3 separate regions of the Homo sapiens genome follow, and regions 1 and 2 are each linked to region 3. Evidence: promoter capture Hi-C in 16 types of primary human blood cells and fetal thymus (Javierre and others, 2016). All regions are on one chromosome and are shown on one strand. Each heading gives the region's core, a stretch centred on a gene start or on the middle of the fragment in contact. The rest is flanking DNA. Distances are from core to core; before and after follow the strand shown. Region 1 has its middle 7.8 kb from the start of PDE1C. Region 2 has its middle 47 kb from the start of PDE1C. Region 3 holds the start of PPP1R17 (protein phosphatase 1 regulatory subunit 17).

What was found. Contacts are between HindIII fragments. The CHiCAGO score rates a contact against its expected background, and 5 or more counts as called.
Region 1: a fragment that was not itself captured here is called in contact with the fragment with the promoter of PPP1R17 in region 3 in 1 of 17 cell types (neutrophils); the score reaches 5.6 in neutrophils.
Region 2: a contact is called between a fragment that was not itself captured here and the fragment with the promoter of PPP1R17 in region 3, in 1 of 17 cell types (neutrophils). The highest score is 9.0, in neutrophils.

What each region holds. Positions count from the first base shown.
Region 1 is chr7:32,076,512-32,079,816 of GRCh38, forward strand. It overlaps a transcript of PDE1C not described here. Among named protein-coding and RNA genes, the nearest start is that of PDE1C, 7.8 kb to the left of the region's middle. The HindIII fragment of the contact is 4,044 bases long and covers 1-3,305 here.
Region 2 is chr7:32,115,412-32,118,865 of GRCh38, forward strand. It overlaps a transcript of PDE1C not described here. Among named protein-coding and RNA genes, the nearest start is that of PDE1C, 47 kb to the left of the region's middle. The HindIII fragment of the contact is 1,147 bases long and covers 1,413-2,559 here.
Region 3 is chr7:31,685,240-31,688,559 of GRCh38, forward strand. It overlaps PPP1R17 (protein phosphatase 1 regulatory subunit 17), which reads left to right and starts at 1,976. Exons shown (of 5, transcript NM_006658.5): 1 at 1,976-2,067. It also overlaps a transcript of PDE1C not described here. The HindIII fragment of the contact is 9,056 bases long and covers 1-3,320 here.

The DNA.
Region 1 (3,305 bases), core at 305-2,804, 390 kb after region 3:
ACACGCCTGTAATCCCAGCTGCTCAGAAGGCTAAGGCACAAGAATTGCTTGAACCTGGGAGGCGGAGGTTGCAGTGAGCTGAGATCACACCACTGCACTCCAGCCTGGGCGACAGAGTGAGACTCCATCTCAAAAAAAAAAAAAAAGAAAAAAAGAAAAAAGAAAAAAAAATGACATCAACACAGAAAAAGCTGAGAGAAGAACTAGAGAGACAAAGAAAAACAATGTGAAAGGGTCCATTGAGCCCCCTGATCCTGCTATGCCTGAAGCCAGAATGCCCATTGACTTTTAGGTTATATGAACAAAATAAATGTACCCCACCAATTTTTTTTAACTTAAACTAGTTTGAGTCAGAGTTATGTTACTGACAACTAAAAGAATGCCAACTAATAATACAATTATTCCTTATAGGAATGTTGTAAGGAGAAAAAAAAAAAAAACAGGGCCGGGCACAGTGGCTCACGCCTGTAATCCCAGTACTTTTGGAGGCCGAGGCAGGCAGATTGCCTGAGGTCAAGAGTTCAAGGCAAGCCTGGCTACCATGGTGGTGTAACCCAATCTCTACTAAAAACACAAAAAGTAGCCAGGCGTGGTGGCACATTCCTGTAGTCCCAGCTACTCAGGAAGCTGAGGCAGGAGAATCACTTGAACCTGGAAGGCAGAAGTTGCAGTGAGCCGAGATTATGCCACTGCACTCCAGCCTGGGCAGCAAAACAAGATTCTATCTTAAAAAACAAACAAACAAACAAAAAATCACGTATGGCCAGTGCCTTGTACATTGGAGGTTCTCATAAAATAGTAGTGCTTCTTCCATCTCATCCATCTGGCAGGACACAAAGGGACAGAAACTGGAACACTATAAAGGGATCTAGGGGTGGGCAGAGCACCCAAGGTAAATAGAAAAAGCCTGTATTATCTTGATAAATAGATATACCGATAATTTTCTTTCAGTTACATTTTGATAATGACCTATCAAATCATTGCTATATTACATACATTAATCCCTCAGAACAAACCTGAAGTGAATGAAAACACTTTATTTACTTTTTTAATTTATTTTATTTATTTATTTTTTTTGAGACAGAGTTTCGCTCTTGTTGCCCAGGCTGGAGTGCAGTGGTGTGATCTCGGCTCACTGCAACCTCTCCCTCCCAGGTTCAAGCAATTCTCTGCCTCAGCCTCCTGAGTAGCTGGGATTACAGGCACCCACCACCACACCCGGCTAATTTTTGTATTTTTAGTAGAGACGGGGTTTCACCATCTTGGCCAGGCTGGTCTTTAACTCCTGACTTCAGGATCCACCTGCCTCGGCCTCCCAAAATGCTGGGATTACAGGCATACTTTATTATTATTATTACCTCCAGTTTAGAAATGAGGTGGTGAAGGTCCAAGAAGTCTGCCAGCTTCCCTCCGGCTGGTCTGCTCTCCTCCAGCTAGTGGCAGGGCAGCAAGACAGTGCAGGCCTCCTGACTTCTGGCTCCGTGGACATTCTGCCTCTCAGAATACACTGCCAACCCAGTATAATTAACTTGGCTGTACTAATGAAATTGAAATTTTTGTTCACGTAAAACTGCTGATGCTACAAGTCAGCCAAATTCTGACCCAAAGGTACATAAATCAGCGGGTTGTTCTTCCTATCACTGTAAAGCAAATTTGAATATGGAAAAACCTCAGAGCTGAAAGGGATCTTTATCCAAGCTCCTAATTCTTCAGATAAGGAACGAGCAGCTCAATCACATGCAGTCACCACACAAGTTGGCAGCAGAGCTTGGACCAGAAGTGATGTCCCTGAACTCCCAGCCCAGTGCTCCACTGTCTCTAAACTTTCTGTGGGATCAAGAATGGCTCCCACTTCCAACGGAGGACTGGTTCAATGGTTTGCTCAGTTAAGAAAAGATGCCCACTAAAAAGCATAGGCTGTTGGTAAATGCTTCTTGAAGAAAGGAGGTCTCTTGGGGAATTGGTAGAAGTAGAGAAGAAAGGCTCCAGGAAAGTGGAAAGGTCCACAGCAGCCTAGATAATAACAGAGAACCTGATGTGATGGGTGTAAGAGGGTCAAGAAAGGGACACTGGGCAACGGCTATACATGCAGACTGAAGGGGCCTGGACTACCGTATTAAAGTTTAGGCTTGGCCAGGCATGGTAGCTCACACCTATAATCCCGGCACTTTGGGAGGCCGAGGCAGGAGGATCTCATGAGGCTAGGAGTTGGAGATCAGCCTGGGCAACATGGGAAGACCCTGTCTCTACAAAAAATTTTTAAAAATTAGCCAGGTGTGGTGGTGCACACCTGTGGCCCTGGCTACTAGGGAGGCTAAGCTGGGAGGATTGCTTGAGCCCAGGGGTCAAGGCTGCAATGAGCCATGATCACAGGATTACACTCCAGCCTTGGCAACAGAGCAAGACTCACTCTCTCAAAAAAAAAAAAAAGAAAATGCTAAGGCTTTATACTCTTGCCAATAGGGAAGCATTAAAATCTGTTGAGCAGGTGTGTAGGAGATGCAAAGTGGAAGTTTGATTTGCAAAGAAGGATTTAAAAACAGGATTTTCGAAGGTTGTTTTTGAAAGGCCACCAAAGGTGAAGATTTACAGATTCTTTTCTCTGTATCTGGAGGGAAATGATCTCACAAAACAAATAAATGCTGGAACCTTTTAAATTCATTCATTCGTTCAACAAACATTGGCTGAGTGCCTACTATGTGCTGCACACTCTGTGATACTAGGTATACAATGGTCAATTAAAATACTCCAGTTTTGCACCATGGATCTTTAATCTAATTGGGAAAACAGATACTAAACAGATTATAAAACAACAGATGCATCACTGTAAAGGTAAAGGGTGCTGAAAAGAAAAACAGGGTGCAGTGCAGAGAACAAAAGGAATATGATTTATTTATAAATAGGGTGGCATTTCAGCTATATTGCTGTGTAACAAACTATCCTCAAAATTCAGTGGCTTTTTAAAACAACCAATTTTTCTCTCTCATGATCCTGTGGGTTGGCCAGGTAGTTCTTCTGTTGGTCTTGTTTGGGGTCTGCCATGCAGCTGTAGCCAGATGGCAACCCGGGCTAGAATATCCAATATGGTTTCACTCACATGTCTGGTGCTTTGGCAGGGACAGCTGGAAGGCTGAGACCTCTCTCTTTCTCCACACGGTTTCTCCTCGTGGTCTCAGCATGTAGCTAAATTAGGCTCCTGTACATGGCAGCTAGATTGCAAGTGCAAGTGTGCCAAGAGTGGGGAGGCAGGAGCGGCCAGTCCTCTTACGGGCTAAGCCTAGGACCGGCACAACATCACTTCTGCT
Region 2 (3,454 bases), core at 736-3,235, 430 kb after region 3:
GAACAATAAGAGCATGTGGACACAGGGAGGGGAACAACACACATCAGGGCCTGTTGAGGGGAGGGGAGTGAGGGAGGGAGAGCATCAAGACAAATAGCTAATGCATGCGGGCCTTAAAACCTAGATGACTGATTAATAGGTTCAGCAAACCACCATGGCACATGTATACCTATATAACAAACCTGCACATTCTTCACATGTATCCCGGAACTTAAAGTACAATAAAAAAAGAAAATATAAGCCAAAATGCCAACAACTTTAGACAATCTGCCAAATAGTTGGTCGACAATAGTGTAACAGTTTAATCATTATGGGATACAATTATAAATGTAGGAGACTTCATTCCCCAATTCCTTTGCCCTTTTAGCTTCTCTTCTTTGTCCCCAGCTCTCTGAGGAAAGAAAGAATGAAAACTATACAGACAGATTCTGAAGAGAACTGTCATCAGAGGCAAGAATTCTACCCCCAGTGAGACTTTGCCCAGGGGAAAGATGTGACTTGTCAGCAATCCATCACACAAAGTTGTGCATGACTAAGAGACCAAGATGGCAGGGAAAAAATGGCATGGGTGAAAGAGGTCTACTCAAGTATGAGAAAAATCTCAGGAAATTGGGATACTACAAAGAGAAACAATGAGAGACTTTAAAAAGAATTTTCTTAGACCAAGCCCTTAAGATTCCTAAAACATTAGAAAGGCATAAGCACAATTAAGGTATTGTCCTTAAATATGACACTTCCGTGGGATGGAACTACAGGGTGCTTTGAAACTTCATGTGATGATTTTATAGCATCTTAGTCAATGCATTTCCCCTTTTATTTCTGCACCTACAACTGTAATGTCATGCTTATATGCTATTCAATTTGTAGAAGACTTGATGCACTTATCTTCCTTCTAGCACAGAGCTATACTTACTTCATTGCCAAAGGATGCTTCTAACTGTACTCAGAAAACCCCATAAGATAATACACCTGCTATTCTCGGGGGAATAGGAGAAGAGTGTCCTTATTGCCTCTGATCAAAGCTGACACATCATAATAACCAAGAAGCAGGCAGGGGTTTGTCAGATTTATTCCAAGTAAACACCTTAATGACCTCCCCAAATGGCAGGGGGCCTGCTCATAATAGGTGCATACATATGTAAAACAGCAAAAGAGAAGGTGCCAGAATTTTTCTGCCACCTGTATTTTCCTCTCCTGATTCACCACCTGGGGAGAGAGGAATGATGAGCTGTTGGAAACCACAGAAGGTGCAGTAACCTTGAAAATCTGGAAGCTGAGGAAGCAGTGAGCTAGAGAGTGAGAAGCCAGAATACAGGAGGTTGACCTGAAAGCCTTGTCAGTCCACATTCCCTATTAGATAATTTTTGTCCCCTTTTGCTATTGCTTAGAACTACAAATTTATGGAATTATAAAGCTTATGTCCCTTATAATCACATGGTCATTTCTTCCCAGAGCTTTAGTCACATCTCTGGACAAGTTCATCTACAGCACCCTATAGACCATTTCATGGCAATAAGCATCCAGAGTGTTAACACTCCTCATCTCACTATGACTTCCTGAACCATATGGGGAAAGCACTTTTATACACAAGTTATTGCTCAACTACACAAGTGAAAAATCTCTACCTCTTGGCTCCTCAGAGTAAATAGATGCAAAAGGCAGAAATCAAAACTTTCATTTGGTAGGCATCTAGAAGCCCATCAGTAGGAAAATATCCTTGAAATTTCTACCTATTTTGATATGGTCAACTTCTCTTTCTATCCAAACCTCTGTAGAGGTTTTGTTTTAAAGGTCAAAAGGAAAATATGAAGAATCTCAAGCAGTTTGTCTAGATAGGCTTTCAAAACTATTTGACAAAAAACTATGGCCACGCTCCACTAATAATAATAACAACTATAAGAAAACTATGTCATATGTAACCAGAACTGTATAGTTCATACGATGATTTCACATATGAGATTCCTTCTGGGCCTCAGGGCCTATGAATGCAGATGTGTTAGGCTCTTCTATAGGTAATAAAACTGAGCCCCCTAGCAGTTTATAGACCTGCTCAAAATTATTATCAGAGCCATAACTGGAACCTAAGCCTTCTGACTACAGTATAGAACCCTTTCTCCTCTTTATGTTTTCAAGTCTTTTACCCTCATTTTAACAGTTGGTCAGTTTACCACAAATGTGGACACACACATACACATATACACATGTGCATACCAGGATCTACATTAATGTCCCCTCTTTCATTCCTAATGCTTGTAATTTGTCCTTTCACTTATTTTCTTGATCACTCTGGCTAGAGGTGTGTTTCTTATGGCAGGTTGCAGTCAAGAGTGTTCAAAATCTACTGCTCACTTTTCTTTCCTGAATGACTAAAGAAATTCTGGAATAGAGTGAGTTATTGATAAATTAAATTGGTCTCGTACTTTTAATTTAAAGGTTGGGGGAAGGGGTGTTGTTGTGAACTCATCAGCCAAAAGAATTCAGGCTTCTTCCCATCCACTCTCAAGAGGGAGCCAGCTGGGATCTGCATCCTTGAGGGCTGGTTTCTGTTACCCTAAAGGAAGCTTTAACAGGACAATGTTTTAGGAGAGATTGAGCAAGAGGAGGACAAGCTGGACACTGATGCAACAAGAGGAAGACAGACTTGTCTTTTCCCTAAGGGTTGGATTCCCAGAGCCTGGGAAGTCATGCGAGTGCTTTGGGGAAAAAGGGCTAAGGAGAGAGTGGAGGGTTACATGGCATCGCCATGGTTAAATATGCAGTCAGTGGGGAAGGATCCTGTGAGCATCACCACAGACAAGTATAGAAGCAGAACCTGACAGCATAAAGGACCAGGTCCCAAAAGGAACATCTGTGAGCAGATAGAGAAATATTCACAATGTGATCACCGTGGACTTAAGGCCAGGCTCTTTCTTTACTGTTCAAGAATATATAAGTGCTAAGGTCCTTGCATGATTCAGTAGAGAGGAAAAAGCCCCAATAAAAATGAATATTAGAATTCTTCCCCTAACCGTAGCTAGTGAGGCTTAGAGCCGAGTTTGATTTTATTTTCAAAAATAAAAATAAAACGTGACCTTCCTTTACCTTATCTTATAGTCTTGTTCCTGCTGCTACAATAGAATTACCAAAGACTTCATAATTTATGGTGAACAGAAATTTATTTGGTTCACTGTTCTAGTGGTTGGGAAGCCACAGAGCATGGTGCTGGCATCTGGTGGAAAGGCAAACAAGCACACAAGACAGAGAGGGAATGGGGACTGAATTTCATCTTTTTATCAGGAGCCCACTCTGTGAAAACCAGCCTACTCCCAAGAGAACATTAATCCATTCATGAGGGCAGAGTCTTCATGACTTAATCACCTCTCAAAGGTCCTACTTCTTAATACCATCATGATGGCAATTAAATTTCAACCTGAGTTTCAGATGGGACTTTCAAACCACAGCATACCTCTAAGTT
Region 3 (3,320 bases), core at 726-3,225:
AGTGATTGGGAGCAGGAGGTTAGGAAGGAACGGAGGGGGGCATGGCTATATAACGGCAAGATAAGGGAGGCTTGTGGTGACAGAAATGTTCTGTATATATTCATGTAAATATCAACATACTGGTTTTGATATTGTAGGATAGTTTCATAAGATGTTACCATTGGATATAACTGCTTACGTATAGGAGATCTCCCTGTATTATCCCTCACAACGACATGTAGATCTATTACCTCAAAACAGTTTAATTCAAAAGAAGAATTCAAGGATTTCAGAAGGAAAGTATATCTTTTCCACTCAAGTGTGGACTGAAGATGCTGCTAACTCATTGGCCAACAAGGCTGTTGTTAAGAAGATAAAGTAAGGCAGGGTTTAATGCCTAGGTGATGGGTTGATAGGTCCAGCAAACCACCATGGCACACGTTTACCTATGTAACAAACCTGCACGTCCTGCACATGTGTCCCAGCACTGAAAATAAAATAAAATTTAAAAAATGAAGAAGATAAAGCAGGCAGTTTTGAACACAGACCTGCTTCTAGGCCCTGTCCCTCAACATCTAGGGCCTTCCCTTCCTAGACAAGAGCATCACCTTTCAGCAACCCTCATCTCTTCCCAGGAGGTCCCAATAAGGATCAACACAAAATGGAACAGGCAAAGAAGTCCATTCTCTGCTTATCTGTTACCATGGCAAAAGTCTAACCCTAGGAGTCAACCTCTTGGTGAGTTTACTATGGTTCTAGCCCTGTTATTTGGGATCCTGGCAAGTGGGAGGGAGGCACCAACAAACACATTGCCAGTGGCAAGCAGGCAGTTGAAACCAAGGGGTTGCCAGGGACCTGCTCTGCAGGGAACCTCAGGTAAGACTGGAAAAAATATGGATGTGTGGATGGTGCTCACGTATCTTCTGTGAGAACATATTTCTTGGGCATCACTGGGTGGTCCATTGGCTGCTATCAGGGGGTCTGGAGCCCTTCTAGTGGGTCCTGATACCTACCTGATCTCCCAGACTGGCCTTCCTGCTTTGGAGTCAAAACTGCTGCTCCTCCAAACCCCAGTGGGCTCTCCTCCAGTGAGCAGACCCAAAACATAGAACCTTCCTCTCCAAAAGACAGCATGTCTCCCGCCTCTCCCACCTTGCTTAAACATCCACTCTTGAGTGCCTACGTATTCCTAATATTGGTACATTTGGCTTTGTTCCTTTGAAGGAGGAAATTTTTTCTGGCCTGCACACTATAACCTATAGAGTTGGGGGCTGCTTTCTTTGCTATGTGCTGTTTGAAATGCTCTCTTTGCTGAGAGGTATTGCAAAGTGGTTACAAGCGTGGACCCTAGCATTTCATTACCCCATTCAAACCCTAGCTTCACCATGTGGGGAGACCTTGGTCAGATGATTTGGTAACTCTTGAGCCCCAGCTTCCTCATCAATAAAATGGGATGATGACTGTAGCTCATCTCACAAGGTTGGCCTGAGGGTTAAGTAAGTAGATATGTGTGAAGTCTCTAGAAGAGTGTCTGGCATTTTGGTAGCCTTACATAAATGTTAGCAGTAGCTACCCTTCTCTTCCTCCTCATGATAGTACTTTGAGAAGCAGCAATAGTGATTGAAAGTACTCTGGATTTAAACTTAAATAGCTTTGAGAGTCGAAATTAGCTGTGGCCTCTCTTGGGCATATCACTTAACTTCTTGTGCCTCAGTTTCCATATTTACAAAATCAGGCCAAAAAAAATCTATCGCATGGGAATTCAATGATGTAGCTGGTTTGTCTGAATTTCTCTGGTGTGCACACCGGAAACTCAAAGCACGACTCTATACTGTACTTTTGTAATGTACAATGATTGCCGTGGAGAGCAGCGATGGAGATGTTAGTCCTCTTTCCTTCTCCATCCCCCTTGCCCTGGTGCCTGTGAAACAGAGCATCCCCATGGCAACAGCAGCAGCTGGTCCCTAGATAAGAGGAGCTGGAGCCGGCCAGCAGCAGCCACTGCCGCAGAGGAGCCAGGCCCAGCCTCGGTGAGCACACACGCCCTCCCTGTCTCTCGCCTTCGCTTCCCTGCATCTGCGCTGATTGGTAAGTGCTTCAGATTTTTACTCCAAGAACTTTTGTGGTGAGAAAAGCAAGTTTCCAGTCAGTTACTGGGACAAAGAAGGCTGTAGCTGGTGGCACGGGGTTGTGCTTTATGGAGCAAGGCTAAGCTGGGGCCGAGTGGACAGCAGAAAAAGTTACCACTTTCAAGTCATTCTTCCAAGGGAGGGAATGGAGTTCTGTAAAAGACTGAACCCTCACAAACTCATTTGCAAAGTTTCAAGATGAAGTTGGTGTATCTGCATATTCACACAGGATAGAGAGGTTTATCTTCCAAGGCTGGGGAAAGTACAGAAAGTATGCTTCTCAAAACACATTCTCCATGCCCTACTTTAAGTCAGTCTCTCCTCCAGGAATACTGCCAATTTAGGTTTTCTAAATGAACAAATCTGATTTTAAAAGACGGTACTTTTTGACCTGAATTCAATCCTCTGGTTAAAAAGAGGTTTGACAATGAATATGTATTTTACATAGCCAGAGGGTGCATTAACGAGATACCACATAGGCTGTGGATACAACCTTCTACCCTTTTATTCCATCCAGTAAATCAAGACCTGATTACTTTGGGGGATATTCTTCAGAATACCGTATGGTAAGCTAAGTGTCAACTCGCTTCTGAGAATCAGTTCTATTATGTTCCCAAGATTTAGAAATGGGTTGGTTTTTGTCTTGAACTATTCTCATCTCATTACCAGCTTCAGAGAAGGCCAGAGATGGGATAAAGAGATAATTCTGATAGATCAATTTAGATAGACATATAATCACAAATGGAGGACTGAAAGATCCAAGAAGGTCCCTCACACTCACGAAAATATCAGTGTGTAGGACCTGGGCTCGGGACTCCATGCACATTCTATGGGTAATACTCTCAACAACCCTGGAGAAGAGCCACTATCTTCCCCCATTTAACAGATTTGAAAACTAAATTTTTGAGAGAACAGATAACTGTCCCAAGTTCACCCAGCTAGAGAGTGGTACAAGCAGCCAAACGTTGGCTTCTACCTTATATTGACTCACAGCATCCAATCTTAAAGTTGAGAGGAATTTTCTTCCCATAATTTAAACCGCATATTCTCACATCCAACTGAGAAAACCGCTCAATGATAAGAGAAAAGACAAAAAATCCAGACCAGCTTCTGACCACACACTGAACCAACTAATGTGTTTCAGCTCCGCTGGTGTGCCTGCCTTTCTGCAATATAGTGGGGTCCCTTTTCTGGCACCCAGTTCCTTCCCCC